Regions from separate parts of the Homo sapiens genome. Here region 1 is linked to region 2. The links are contacts of gene promoters, found by promoter capture Hi-C in blood cells and fetal thymus (Javierre and others, 2016). All regions are on one chromosome and are shown on one strand. The core of a region is centred on a gene start or on the middle of the fragment in contact, and the rest is flanking DNA. Distances in the headings are between cores, read along the strand shown. Region 1 overlaps FAM193A (family with sequence similarity 193 member A). Region 2 holds the start of SLC75A1 (solute carrier family 75 member 1).

The links. Contacts are between HindIII fragments. The CHiCAGO score rates a contact against its expected background, and 5 or more counts as called.
Region 1: a contact is called between a fragment that was not itself captured here and the fragment with the promoter of SLC75A1 in region 2, in 1 of 17 cell types (total B cells). The highest score is 5.8, in total B cells.

Annotation. Positions count from the first base shown.
Region 1 is chr4:2,667,398-2,674,628 of GRCh38, forward strand. FAM193A (family with sequence similarity 193 member A) reads left to right here. Exons shown (of 21, transcript NM_001366318.2): 13 at 4,724-4,975. Among named protein-coding and RNA genes, the nearest start is that of TNIP2, 85 kb to the right of the region's middle. RefSeq lists an enhancer at 3,811-4,355. The HindIII fragment of the contact is 5,143 bases long and covers 1-4,770 here.
Region 2 is chr4:2,930,091-2,936,353 of GRCh38, forward strand. It overlaps SLC75A1 (solute carrier family 75 member 1), which reads right to left and starts at 4,735. Exons shown (of 13, transcript NM_001146069.2): 1 at 4,679-4,735; 2 at 3,663-3,854; 3 at 3,477-3,573; 4 at 3,016-3,119; 5 at 2,510-2,668; 6 at 2,261-2,422; 7 at 1,955-2,063; 8 at 1,735-1,846; 9 at 1,465-1,573; 10 at 1,285-1,375; 11 at 1,137-1,184; 12 at 971-1,060; 13 at 477-863. The coding sequence starts at 3,833. The coding sequence ends at 748. It overlaps NOP14-AS1 (NOP14 antisense RNA 1), which reads left to right and starts at 5,456. Exons shown (of 4, transcript NR_015453.2): 1 at 5,456-6,263. RefSeq lists enhancers at 1,716-1,785, 2,206-2,255, 2,976-3,205, 3,448-4,315, 5,573-6,263 and 1 more and silencers at 4,156-4,375, 4,605-4,914, 5,075-5,184. The HindIII fragment of the contact is 5,918 bases long and covers 1-5,454 here.

The DNA of each region.
Region 1 (7,231 bases), core at 949-3,448, 270 kb before region 2:
TCGGTTACTGAGAGAGGCATATTGAAGCCTTCAAGTTTAACTGTTGGATTATTTCCTTCTCCTTTCAATTCTTCCTTGTTTTGGTTCATGCATTTGGGGGTGATGTTATTGAATTATTGTTATAGCTCCCCTGATATATTGCCCCTTTTATCATTATGAAATGTTTGACTACTGGTGTTTCTTAACGTCCGTTTTATTTGTTAGTATAGCCACTCCACCTTCTTGGGTTACTGTGTACATGTATTTTTTCATCCTTTTACTTTCAGTTTCTTTGTGTCTTTGAATCTAAAATTTGTCTAACATCTTTTAGTTGGGCCTTGCATTTTTATCCTGTATATGTCAGTATCTGCCTTTTTAAATATTAAACAAAAATTTTAGTGTACTATTTTAATTCTTCTGTTGATTCTTTTTTTAATTTTCTTAGTGGCTGCTGTAGGGTTACAGTATGCATCTCTTGTGAATGTCGTTATAAAAAATAAAAAGAAACAAAAATTAAAATACAATATGTATCTCTTTTTTTCTTAGAGACAGGGTCTTGCTCTGTTACACAAGCTGGAGTGGGGTGGCATCATCATGCCTCACTGCAACCTCAAGCTCCTGGGCTCAAGCAGTCTTCCTGCCTCAGCCTCCTTAGTAAGCTGGGACTATAGGCATGTGCCGCCATGACCGGCTAAGTTTTTTAATTTTAGTAGAGACAAGGTCTCCCTGTGTTGCCCAAGTTTGTCTCAAACTCCTGGCCTTCAGTGATTCTCCCGCCAGGAAATCCCAAAGTGCTAAGATTACACTTAACCAGTGTACCCAGCCACAATATGCATCTTTTTTTTTTTTTTTTTTGATACAGAGTCTCGCTCTGTCACCCAGGCTGGAGTGCAGTGGCGCAATCTTGGCTCACTGCAACCTCTGCTTCCCAGGTTCAAGTGATTCTCCTGCCTCAGCCTCCCAAGTAGCTGGGATTACAGATGCGCACCACCACGCCCATCTAATTTTTGTATTTTTAGTAGAGACAATGTTTTGCCACTTTGGCCAGGCTGGTCTCTAACTGGCCTCAAGTGATCCACCTACCTCAGCCTCCCAAAGTGCTGAGATTACAGGTGTGAGCCACCACGCCCGCCCACAATATGCATCTTAATTTATCACAATCTACTCCAGATTACTACTGACTTAATTCCAGTAAAATATACAAACTTTGCTCCGCAGGAGCTCCATTTCCTTCTTTCTCCTTTGTACTATTATTGTCCTATATATAATTACATTTGTATATGTTACAAACCAATAATATGTTTTAATTACTGCTTTATACAGCTTTATAATTTCTAGAGCAAATAAAAGAGAAAAATGTATTTATACAGTGCCTGCCTGCCTGCCTTCTTTTCTTTCTTTTCCTTTTCCTCTCTCTCTCTTTCTCTCTCTCTCTCTTTCTCTTTTCCTTTTCCTTTTCTTTTCCTTTTTCTTTTCCTTTTTTTGAGACAGAGTCACACTCTGTTGTCCAGGCTAGAGTGCAGTGGCACAATTTTGGCTCACTTCAACCTCCACCTCCCAGGTTCAAGCAGTTCTCCTGCCTCAGCCACCTGAGTAGCTGGGATCACAGGCAAGCACCATGGCACCCGGCTAATTTTTGTATTTTTGGTGGAGATGACATTTCGCCATGTTGGCCAGGCTGGTCTCAAACTCCTGACTTCAGGTGACCTACCCGCCTTGGCCTCCCAAAGTGCTGGGATTACAGGCATGAGCTACCACGCCTGGCCTGTATTTATACAGTGTTTTCTATTTGCTAGCTGGCTAGTCATTTCTGGCATTCTTCATTTTAAATTCTGCCGAATTTAAGTTACCGTCTTGTTTTTACCTTCCTTTAATATGTCTTACAGGACCAGTTTGCTAGCAGTTAATTCTGTTTTTGTGTAAATGTCTTTATTTTGCCTTCATTTTAAAAAATAGACCAGGCATGGGGGTGTCTCACGCCCAGCACTTTGGGAGGCAGAGGCGGGCAGATCACCTGAGGTCAGGAGTTCGAGACCAGCCTAGCCAACGTGGTGAAACCCCATCTCTTCTAAAAATACAAAAATTAGCCAGGCGTGCTATCATGTGCTTGTCATCCCAGCTACTTGGGAGGCTGAGGCATGAGAATTGCTTGAACCCGGGAGGCAGAGGTTGCAGTGAGACAAGATCGCGCCATTGCGCTCCAGCCTAGGCGAGAAGTGAGACTCCGTCTCAACAATAAATAAATAAATAATAAATAGAGTGGTTGTTTTTAGGAATAGCTTTAGACTCACAGCAAAGTTGAGTGAGAGCTACAGAGACACCCTATACCCAGGGTCCCCACACACAGCCTTCCCACTATCAAATTCCACACCAGAGTGTTACTCTTGTTACAGTCATCAGCTGTCAGACTGTTAGAACAAGCAGTCAGTTCTCCTGGCAGCCTGGCTTTCTCAAGAAGGTGTTTTAGTAGGGTCTGGGGTCATCCTAGGGACTTGGCCTTTGGCTGCAGGAAGCCTTAGGTGGTCATTGTGTGCCAGAGTTCTGCAGCTCTCAGTATCTCTTTGTTTTTATCCATCTTAAGGTTCACTGAGCTTCTTGGATCTGTAGACCAATGTTTCTCATCACATTTGGGAAGTGGAGTGTCCAGGTGTTATTTGGATGCTCTTCCCCCTTTCCTCTGGGACTTGGTTCTGCACATGCTGGAGTGCTGGCTGCTCTCCCACAGGCCTCTGAGCGTCTGCATACTTTCCCCTCATCTCTTCTCTCTCTTCCTAGATCAGTTCCATTGCTCTTCTTCAAGTTCACAGATGATTTTTCTGCCATTTTAAGTTTGCTTTTGAGCCCCTTTAGTGAAATTTTGGTTTAGCTATTGTACTCTTCACCTATAGAATTTATATTTTACTGTTTTTTTGTTTCTCTTTTTTTGTAGTAATTCCCTATATGTTGAATCTTTATTTTCATATTTTCCTTTAATTCTCTGAACATGTTATAACAGCTGCTTTGACATCTTTGTGTGCTAATTTAGTATCTGAACTCACTCCTGTTAACCGTTTGACTATTTATTTCCTGCATGTGGGTCACACTTTTTTTTTTCCAGACAAGGTCTTGCTCTGCCACCCAGGCTGAAGTGCAGTGGCATGATTACAGCTCACTGGAGCCTCGAGCCTGGACCTCCTGGGCTCAAACAATCCTCCCACCTCAGCCCCCCAAGTACTTGGGACTACAGGCACACACCACCATGCCTGGATAGTTTTTGTACTTTTTGTAGAGACAGGGTTTTGCCATGTTGCCCAGACTAGGCTTGAACTCTTGGGCTCAAGTGATCTTCCCACCTCTGCCTCCCAAAGTGTTGGGATTACAGGTGTGAGCCACTGCGCCCAGCCTAGGTCATACTTCTCTTTAATCTTTGCTTGTCTCATAATTTTTTGTTGAAAATTGGACATTTTAAATAATGTGATAATTTTGCATTATCATTTTTTCCCTTGAGGGTCCTTTGTTGTCTTTTGTTTGTTTCCTTGTTTTTGTTATTTCCTGGGCTTCAGTTGCAGGACCTGTATCTCCCACATTATGTGGCTGTGGGTGTCTCAGCTTACTTCTTCTCTTCTCCTTTTTAGTTTGGCTTCTAGAGGTCTGCCCTTTGTCCACCTGGCTGATTGGCCAGCTGATGATTTGGGCAGAGGTTGCCCATGCACCTTGAATCCACAGGGGCTCCATTGTTGGCTGTGGGGTGAATGCGCTCAGCACTCAGCCAGTTCTCAAGTCAGCTGTGTTGGCCCCTTCCTCCAGCCCGTGAGGTGTCCTCAGTGCATGCACTGTGCTCTCCTGGTCAGCCAGCGAGTTGTGGACAGCTTAAGAAGCCCTTCCGTGGCGCTCTCATTTCCAGGGTTCTCTCTGTTAGATTTCTGTCTCCTTTGCCACTCACCCCAGTTGGGACCTCAGTCTCAAGGGAACAGAGCTGCAGGCTTCCCTATTCATTCCCTTCTAAGTTCACTGCTTTTACTGCTTCACCCTCTGCCTGACCAGGCTGCTGTTTTTGGTAGCAGGGTTGGTTTGCGCTGACATCCCTGCAGTCACAGAACTCCTGTGCCCACTGCCGACCGAGTCAGGGGTGGAGTACAGGTGCAGGAAATGGAAAGAGTCCCAGACAAGAAAGCCAGACTTGCTGTTCTTCCTTGAAGTTCTAGCTGATTTGCATGAATAAATGTGTCGCGGTATTTTCCTTGGGCTGATTTCCAGAGCCTCAGAATGGTTGCCTTTGACAATTGTGTTCAGTTTTACATTTGCCCTGAGGGAAAGGAGCCACTGACCTCTTCACTCCACCGTAACCGGAAGTCGCGTCTCTGCTTTGTTTTGGAGAATCCATGTGTGACTACTTAGAAGCAGTGTGAGCCCAGTGGAGCACAGCCATCCCCTCTCTACTCTGTCGTCTTCACTAGTTCCCTTGTCCCTGCTCACATGTGGGAAGAGAGATTTTCTGCATAGGCATAGGATTCAGAACCAGTGGCTCTACCTGAGTCTGTCTGTGGAATGAGGTACACCTTTCTTCTCTGTGCGTCTTCTTCAGTCTCAGTCTCTTGGGGTCCCTCGTTTTCCTTGCATGGAAGGCCCTGGTCAACTCAGGGTGTCAGGAAAAGCCCACTTACCTTTGTATTTGCTTTGTAACTACTTGGCAGAATGTGACTGACTTTAATTCATACCATTTATTGTTTCACTAAATAGGTATGTTTTTTTTCTTTCCTCTTAGGCTGAACAAGCTCCAAACACTTGTGAATGTCATGTTTGTAAGCAGGAAGCTTCTGGACTGACACCATCTGCAATGACAGCCGGAGCCCTTCCTCCTGGCCATCAGTTCTTGAGCCCAGAGAAGCCCACACACCCTGCACTGCACCTTTACCCTCACATCCATGGACATGTGCCTTTGCACACTGTTCCACACCTGCCACGCCCTCTCATCCACCCCACCTTGTATGCAACGCCCCCCTTCACACACAGTAAGGTAAGTCAGGGCAAAAAGGGTCTGAAAGCTCACTCTTCACTGAGATCCTACAGGAGTACATAGTCAAACAAAGAAATCTGTGAATTAGCAACTTGCATAGGATAGCATCTGCTCTGGATAGGAAGGTCTCCAAGTGTTTCCTTTCACCATAATCTCTTAAGCACTGTAATTGTGAACCTTTACAGTTGTAACAATCATTAAAAACAACTGTGAAGGTCATAGTTCTTTTATTCAGAATTAAATAGAACAGAAGGATTTTTCAGGTGCTATTTCTAACAGGTTAAACCTAGGGAATATTTCCACAGGAGACCAGTAATCTACTTGTGATCTTCCAGGGCTTGCTCTTCTTCTTAATTTGATAGGTAAAATAATGTGAATACAACATGAGTCCTCTAACACTGGCTGGACTCTACAGGGTCTAAAATGTCTATGCTGCTTTAGCATTTAGAAATACACGAGCCTAAATAAAGGAAGAGCCCTAAGTGTGATGCCACAGAAAACTATAACGCCCTGCAGGTGATGGAGCACTGGGGAGGGGAGGGTACAGAAAGGAGAAGCTGCCAGAAACCCAGTGTGAAGAGCCCATTCAGGAAGTGGAGTGAGGATGTAGAAATAAGTTGATTTTTATGCATTTCTTCCCAGAGAACCTCATGTGTATACTTAGTATCTTAGACTTTACAGTGAAATTCTTAGGCTGGTTTCTTTCTTTGGACCTTAGATAGCTTTGCCTCTCTAGTTATTTTGAGCTTAACTTTACCAGAATGACTCACCGTAATTCTGATTGTTTTCTTTTTTTTCTTTGTACCAGTTATTCTTGTCCAAAGGTAGCTCTAATCAGTCAAAAATATAATTTATTTCAAACCCTAATTTATTATTTAAAACATTGCTTTTGAGCTGGAACAGAAAGGGAGGAGGACATGACATGGAATGATTTTTTCCAGACCACAGTTTTTCCAAACACATGTGTGTTTTCTCCCCTCTAGGGGTCACTGTGAAGTGGGGTACATGTAGCCCATAAGTGAGGTTTGTTGTCTCTTTGCTAGGGAGAGGCGTAGGTGGAAGATTAACAGACACAGGTTTAGAATAGAGTGTAATAAGTTTGCCACATCTATTGTAATTACTTGGCACAACCATCCAAATTCATGCTTAAATTTTGTTAGATTGAATATTGCTCAGTTTGAACTTTTAATGATGTCTTAATAATAGAATGCTTTTTAATAACATTTTTCAGGTATGTAGTCAGAACCAGGCTATCTTCATGGTCCGCCTGGTTTGTAGCCTGATTTTCTCTGGGTGTAAAGTGAGGAAGGTTTCCACTCCCTGCTGTAGCCTGAAGAGAGCTCTATTACCTAGTTCCAAGAAAAGATAATATTCTGTTAGATGTTTTTGCTGCTGGAAGCTATTCAAGAATTAGTTCCGAAAAATAAGTAAGATAGTAAAATTGATTATTACTAAAGACTGTGGGGCCCCTTTGGTTAAAAATTGATTATTTTCCCGGGCTTTTGGCCTTTTCTTAGGAAATTAGAGATCTATATATGGGTAAAAGAAGAAAAACATGTTTTAGGAGCATCATTTGTATCTAATATCTGTTCTCTTGATACCTGTTAAACTTTAATCATATAGAAAGATTTGAATAGAAAAGCAAATATGGAGTCAAGCCATATACGGTAGAGGTATAGAAACTTAGAAATTTATAACTAAACGTTATTTCTACCACTTCAGCAAACTGAAGACTATTCACTGATTCATTTAAAATATGTGGTGGCCATTATTATGTGGAAACATAAGATACAATTATCAAAATACTTCATTTGCATCTGGTATGAAAATGTTCGTTTCTGTAAACAAACTTGAATTGTCACTTACCAGGTCTTACAAGATTAGTTTGTGTTATTTGACTTAGTTTGGCTTAGTTGGATGCTGTTGACCACATCTGTGCCTAAATGCATAATGCGTTAGCAGCCCTGAAGGGGTCTCCTGGTCCACCAGTGAGTTGTGGACAGCTTAAGAAGCAAATGAGCTATATCAGAATTGCACAAATTTCAGTGACATTGGAGGAAGTTTCTTAGAGATAATCAACAGCAGGATTGTTGGGCAAGAAGTTCTGAATGTAGGGAGCAGAAGGTGGGTGCTGAACGTGGAGGGGGCCTTGTGTACTGTGTCTGCCATCACTTTTGCATTGTTGGGGCCTTGGGGAGTTTCTGCTGTGCTGGGGTCACAGTTTTTGCCTTTTGGCACATTATGTCATTGTAGTTG
Region 2 (6,263 bases), core at 3,485-5,984:
TTATATTTTAATTTCTTTGTTCCCATGTTTGTCTCGTGCTGAAAAGAGACCTCCTAATGTTCATGTCTTGATAAAATGTCACCTGCAGCCACGCGTGCGGCAGGACGTGCCACCCAGCACTCCTGGTGTCCCTCTCCACGGGAACTCAGGGTGTCCAGGGAACTGCTGGCCTGTCCTTGTCCCCATGGTCCCAGTCTCACTGTCACTGTGTGCTCATGTTTGATGGGGAGGGCTCTGTGCTGGGGACATCCTGCCAGGGTGCGGGGCACACTGCCAGATACCACCTGGCCAGGGCTGACCCCAGCCTTGGAGGAGCCTGCCTGAGTGAGTCCCCAGGCTGCCACTGTGCAGAGGGGGAAACTGAGGGTCTCAAAGAGCCTTGGACCCTTCCGGTCAGTGGAGCCATTCATTCAGCTCCAGCTGCCTTTCCTGGTGTGGGTAGAAGCACGGCTATATATGGCGAAAGGCACTTGGTATAAAACAAACAGGTGCTTTATTTCATCATCAGAAACCTGGTGCATAGTTTAAAAAACAAACAGAAGCCCTGACAGCCTTGGAGTGCTGCAGCTCGGAGTCACTGAAGGAGTAAGTAAGTCTGGAGGAGCTGCCTGAGCTTCCTGCTTAGGGGCCGGCCCCCACCCACAGGGTCTCCCTGGACTGGCGGGGGGTGGGGGTCAGGCAGTGGGCAGGGGCCTGACCTAGGCTCCCACTCTGCCTGGTGCCCACAGCCTGGGCACAGTGGCTCAGCTACTCAGCCTTGAGCGTCTGTGCCGGGTAACTCAGCTTCTGCAGGAGGAAGAAGGGGAGCAAAAAGAGCCCGGACCACGTGGTGAAGCAGGCCTGGGCCCCGGCCAGCCAGTACACTGCGGAGAGACGGTGGCGTCACCCAGTCCCCGAGGGGGCTGGCACTTGGGAGGCGAGGGCAGGTGCTTGGCCCCCAGCCTGCCCCAGCACCATCCCGCGCCCTCACCTGAAGCGGCCACCAGGGGCCCCGCGGCCCTGGCCAGAGCACCTAGGCTGCGCAGTGTACCCATGACCGTGCCCTTCTGCCCTGGTGAGCCTGTGGGAAGAGGCACAGTCAGGCACCACTGCCCTTCTCCCGCTCAGGTGGCTTCGGCCGAGGGAAGGGGGCTCACCATAGCCAGCGACCACGGAGGACAGGCAGGGCACCACAACGGCGGCGGCTGGTGGGAGACATCGAGGAGGTGCCCGTCAGCCCAGGGGAGGGTGCATCACCCAGCCCCTGCTGCCCATCGGATCCCCTGCCAGGGCAGGGCCACTCACCAAAGGAGTAGAGCAGCAGCCCCAGGCCCAGCACGGGCAGAGAACGTCCCCAGCCGATGAGGAGGAAGGCGGGCACCAGCAGCAGGAGGGCCTGCAGGTGGGCACGGCAGCCTCAGCACAGCCCGTGCCCTGCAGGACTCAGGGGACTGCCTGCCACCCGCTTTGGAGGGAGCCCCCTACCCGCTTCACGGCAGCAACTTCCCCGCCAGGGTGGATCCGCCGGGCATAGGCACCCTGGATGGTGGCCATGGTGAGGCCGATGAGGAAAAACATCTTCCCCTGCTGTAGGCTGGGAGCGGGTGTGTTAGTGCAGGGCACCCGGGGCAGGGCCACCCAGGGCAGGGCCAGGGCGAGAGTGGCTGCCAAGGCTTCCTGGGGATGGGGGTTGCTTCCCTGAAGCAGGGGCGTTATTTCAGGGAGACAGCAGGCCGTCGCCAGATGGGGACCCACCTACTGAACTGGAAGCGCTGGTGTGTGAGGAAGCTCAGCGTGTACTCCAGGCCCGAGAACAGGAAGAGGTAGAGGAAGTAGACTAGGCCCAGGCGGCGCAGGCTGCTGAGCCCTGGGGAGAGGTGGCGCGTGCTGAGAAGGCGACCACAGCAGGGAAGGGCGCCGCCCGGGGAAGCCCAGGGGAGAGCAGGCTCCACGCTTGGGTTGGTCGAGTCCTTACTGTCTCCAGAGGGTGGGTCCTGGCCACGAGCGACAGCCGAGAAGCGCAGCAGGGCCAGGGGGCTGAGCAGATCAGCCGCATCACGGAACCCCAGGGCGATAGAGGGCGCCTGTGGGGATGGCATTGGAGAGCCTGCAGGAGCGGCTGCTGGCCTGGCAACCCACGGACTGTGGCCTCAAGGGTCCCAACACCAAGAGAGCGGCCCAGCCTCCCTGGCATCTGGGGCTGGCACACAGGGGCACTTTACATCGCTATGGAATCAAGCCTCCAGCCCCTAGGCCTGTGGGTCCCAGACCACAGCCCTACCCGTTTCTCCAGGGGCAGCGTCTCTGGCAGGAAGCAGAAGATGAACAGCAGGTCGGAGGCTGCGAAGAGCAGGGCAAACCAGGGTGCCATTTCCAGGGGCAGGGAGGCTCCGAGCATAGGGCCCAGGGTGAAGCCCAGTGAGAAGGCCACCCCAATGACCGCCTAGGGAAAAGACCACCCGAGCTGCACAGGGAGACCCAGGCCCAGAAGTCACCACCAGGACCCCAAAGGCCCAGCCTGTGCACTTACCATGCCTTGACTGCGGGCCAGAGGCGAGCCCAGGTCAGCAACGATGGCCGTGGAGAGGCTGACGTTCCCTTTGCTGATGCCCCCAATCAGCCTGGAGGCCAGGAAGGCCGCAAAGCTCCGAGAGGTGGCCCAGACTGCATATGAGGTGGCCACACCCATCTGCCCAGGGGCAGGGGCCAAGAGGCAGGGGCGGTCGCTTAAGGCCAGGAGTGGCTCAGAGTAGGGCTTGGCAACCCAGACAACACCCCTCAACCCTGCCCTATTTCGAAGCATCTGAGGGCCACTTGCGTTCTCAGTGCCTTCCTAGGGGCCAGGAGCAGCTCCTTGAAAGCCTGGCTCTGGAACAGGAGCCACTGGTCCCCCGAGAACCCCCTCCAGGATGCGATGAGGGCCAACCAGTGGCCATGAGGGGCCCACAGCCACCTCCCTCTCCCCACCTAACCCCATGGGGCTACTGGCTGGGTGGGAGGAGGCTTCCCCATGGGCACCCAGGCCCAGGAACATACCAGGCACAGCAGCATCACCGGGCGCCTCCCCAAGCAGTCAGAGGTGGCCCCAGTGAGTGGCGCACACAGAAACTGCAGGACAGAGAATGCCGAGCCAATGAGACCTGAGAGACAGATGTCACCATCATGGGGCTGCCTGGCACCATGAGCTGTGGTCTTGGGGCCCTCAAGGCCAATGTCCAGCCCCGTCCTGAGGGTCCAGTCATGCTGGGCCCTACACTCACAGGCCATGGCCCTTGAGCCGAGGGGGCCCCAATGGAGAGATGAGGAAGGATCTGAACGTGACACGCGGAGGCAAGGGATCATGCCCAGAAGCCAGGACATGTGGGCAAGGGCACCAGACATGCCAGCCCAGGGAGTGGGAAGGCAAGGACCGAGAATTGGGGAGGGGCCTGGGCTGGACCACGTCCACCAAACATAGGACCGTAGAGAGCCCGCCAAGGGCACAGAGCCAGCCATACCTCCGAACAGGACACTGTTGTACCTCTTCTCCACTGGCATCCCGATGGCGGTGGCAAACCAGTCCACCCCGCCCTGCCAGGAGCCATAGAGGGGGTCCTAGGGGATGAGGAATCACGATAAGGGCTGGGGAGGTCTGATGGGCCTGGGGGGCAGGGGGCACTGTGGGCCGCAGGGCAAGGACTCACGTGGGCACGGCCGTGGCTCTCCAACAGCCCGGGCAGCAGGGGCAGCAGCAGCGTGAAGGCCAGGAGGTCCAGCAGGAGGCCGAGAAAGACAACGGTGACCACGCGGCGCTCCGGCGGCTGCTGGTGGATGGGTGGGCGCGGGGTGCAGCCTCCACCCCCTCCCCATCCCATGGTGGGCTGCTCTGACCTGGCCTGGGTGGGGTGCGGCGGGTCGGGTTAGCGGGGAAGCCGAGTCCTCCGGGGCCTGGCATACCCCCACACCCGACAGCCGGCGAGCACCCTAAAGGGGCTGATGGCAGGGGCTCTGGCCTACGGACGCAGGGGCCGTTCTGGCCTGCGCGATGCCCCCGCCCCGAACCCAGGCAGCAGGAAACGCAGGCTTCGGGGATTGCACAAAAAATAGCCGCAAAGGCAACGGTCCTGAGAGACCAGGGTGAGCACATCGCGGACCTGGCCCCACCCCACCCCACGGCCGCGCCTCCCACGCCCTCGTAACAGCGAGAGAAAACTTGAAGCCGCGGGGAACCCGGATCCCGATCCCGATCCCGATCCCGATCCCAACCCCAACCCCAGCCCCGGCCCGCGCCCCGCGATTCCGGCCCCTGGCCCGGACTCGGTCTCCCTGGCGGGGGCCATGGGGTGCACACCGGACGCAGGAGCACCCCCAACCCCGCGCGCCTCCCACTCCGCCATCCCGCGTGCGTCCCGGTCCCGCCCCCACCCCGCGCGCCCCCGGTCCCGCCCCCCACCCTGCGCGTCCCCGGTCCCGTCCCCCACCCTGCGCGCCCTCTAACCCCCACGCCGCGCGCCTCCCACCGCCCCCACCCCGCGCGCCCCTGGTCCAGCCCCACACCCCGCGCGCCCCCTACTCCCCTACCCTGCGCACCTCTCACCCGCCCCACCCCCGCGTACCCCGGGTCCCGTCTCCTCCCCCACCCCGCGCGTCCCCTGTCCCACCCCCAACCCGAGCGCCCCCTACGCCCCCCACCCCGGGCGCCCCCGGTCCCGCCCCGCACCTGCCGCGGCTGCGCGCTCGGGACGGACGGTCGCACAGACGCGGAACAGGGCACCAGGCACGCCGCCAGGGGCGGGACGGCCACGCCCGGCCACGCCACGCCCCGGAAGTGACGTACATCTCTGCACGTTCTCTTCCGGCCGGAGTCAGTGGCGGGGTTCTCGCCGGTCCTGCGGGTCGCTGCTTGGCTGTGGGTTAGCAGCACCCTGAGCGGAGCGGAAGAGCTGCCCGCCGCCGCGTAACCCCGAGGCCGAGACTCCTGGCCTGGCCTCCTTGGGCCCACGACGCCTGCCCCGCGGAGCGGACCCATGGGCCTGAGGTTTGTGTGCGGGGCCTCAGGCGAGCGCTGGCGCAGCCTGTCCCCCATCGTCTGCGCCCTGCGGGCCTGGCCCTCCCCGTGGAAGGACCGCGGGCTTCGGGGCCCCACGCTGGGGGGCTGACTCCTGCCACACACACAGCGGTGGCCGCGGGCCTGGGGCGGCAGCACAGCCATTCTGCTCGGGCTGCGTGAGCTGACCCCGCTCTCTGTGCACCTACTTTTGCTGCGTTTGGTGCTGAGCCTGAAGTCCCAGGACAGGCGGCTGAGGGGGAAAGATGGTGTGAATTGGGTGGGCAGAGACAACTGAAAGCCACAGGACCCGGTTGGCACCTTTTTGGCCGCCTGCGCCTTTGCCTGCAGCCCCGCTCCCTGGGTCACCCGAAGGAGGAGCTGGCGCTCTTTCCGGGCGCAGAAGCACCCGACCCACGCTGGAGGAAACGGTCCCTCTGGGCAGGAGAAGCTTTGGGCCTGGCTGGAGCACACTCACGGAACCACGCCAACGCCTGGCCTGTAGCCAGCTCCCACCTCCCCTCCCACCTTCTAAAATGCTTGCGGATCTCACGTGGCCGACCCTAACCAGATACACATGGGGAAAGGAATCAGGTGGCACACATACCGCCTTTACTCCATAGAGAACTTCCAATTGTGGGTAAGAACAAAGCCCCACCTCTTCCTAATAGATGCAGTTTTCCACCTGCAGCCAAAAAGACAACCTGTTATTAGCTTTTTTCCCAGAGGACAGGCATCTCTATGAAACTGCCATTGCAAAATTTGCCGACAGTGAGATAACCAGCTCCATTTTGCTTCTAACCTCCATGCCCTCCTTGTTTACTGCTGCACGCAGGTTGAACTGTGGGAGGAACTTAGTTTAAAACAAAGATGATAACAGCCCTTTCCCAAAGGAAACCTTTCCTGGGGATTAGCCTGCTTTTGTGGGACCAACAGATTAGCCACAAGATTAGAAACTACGGTTGAAGAGTCACGCAGCGGGAGGCTACAGGATTCTGACCCTCCCCAAACTGCTCCTGGCGATAACATCACCATCGTAAAGCCTAAGATCAGCACTTGGTGGGTCACCTGGCACCACCCAGGCTCATCTGATGTTGTGGCACCCAGGAACTGACTCAGTGCGAAAACAGCTTCGACTCCCTGTGATTTCATCTCTGACCTGACCAATGGGTACTTCTGACTCACTGGCTGCCCCCCACCCACCAGCTTATCTTTAAAAACTCCAAACCCCAGATGCTCAGGGAGACCGAGTAATAAT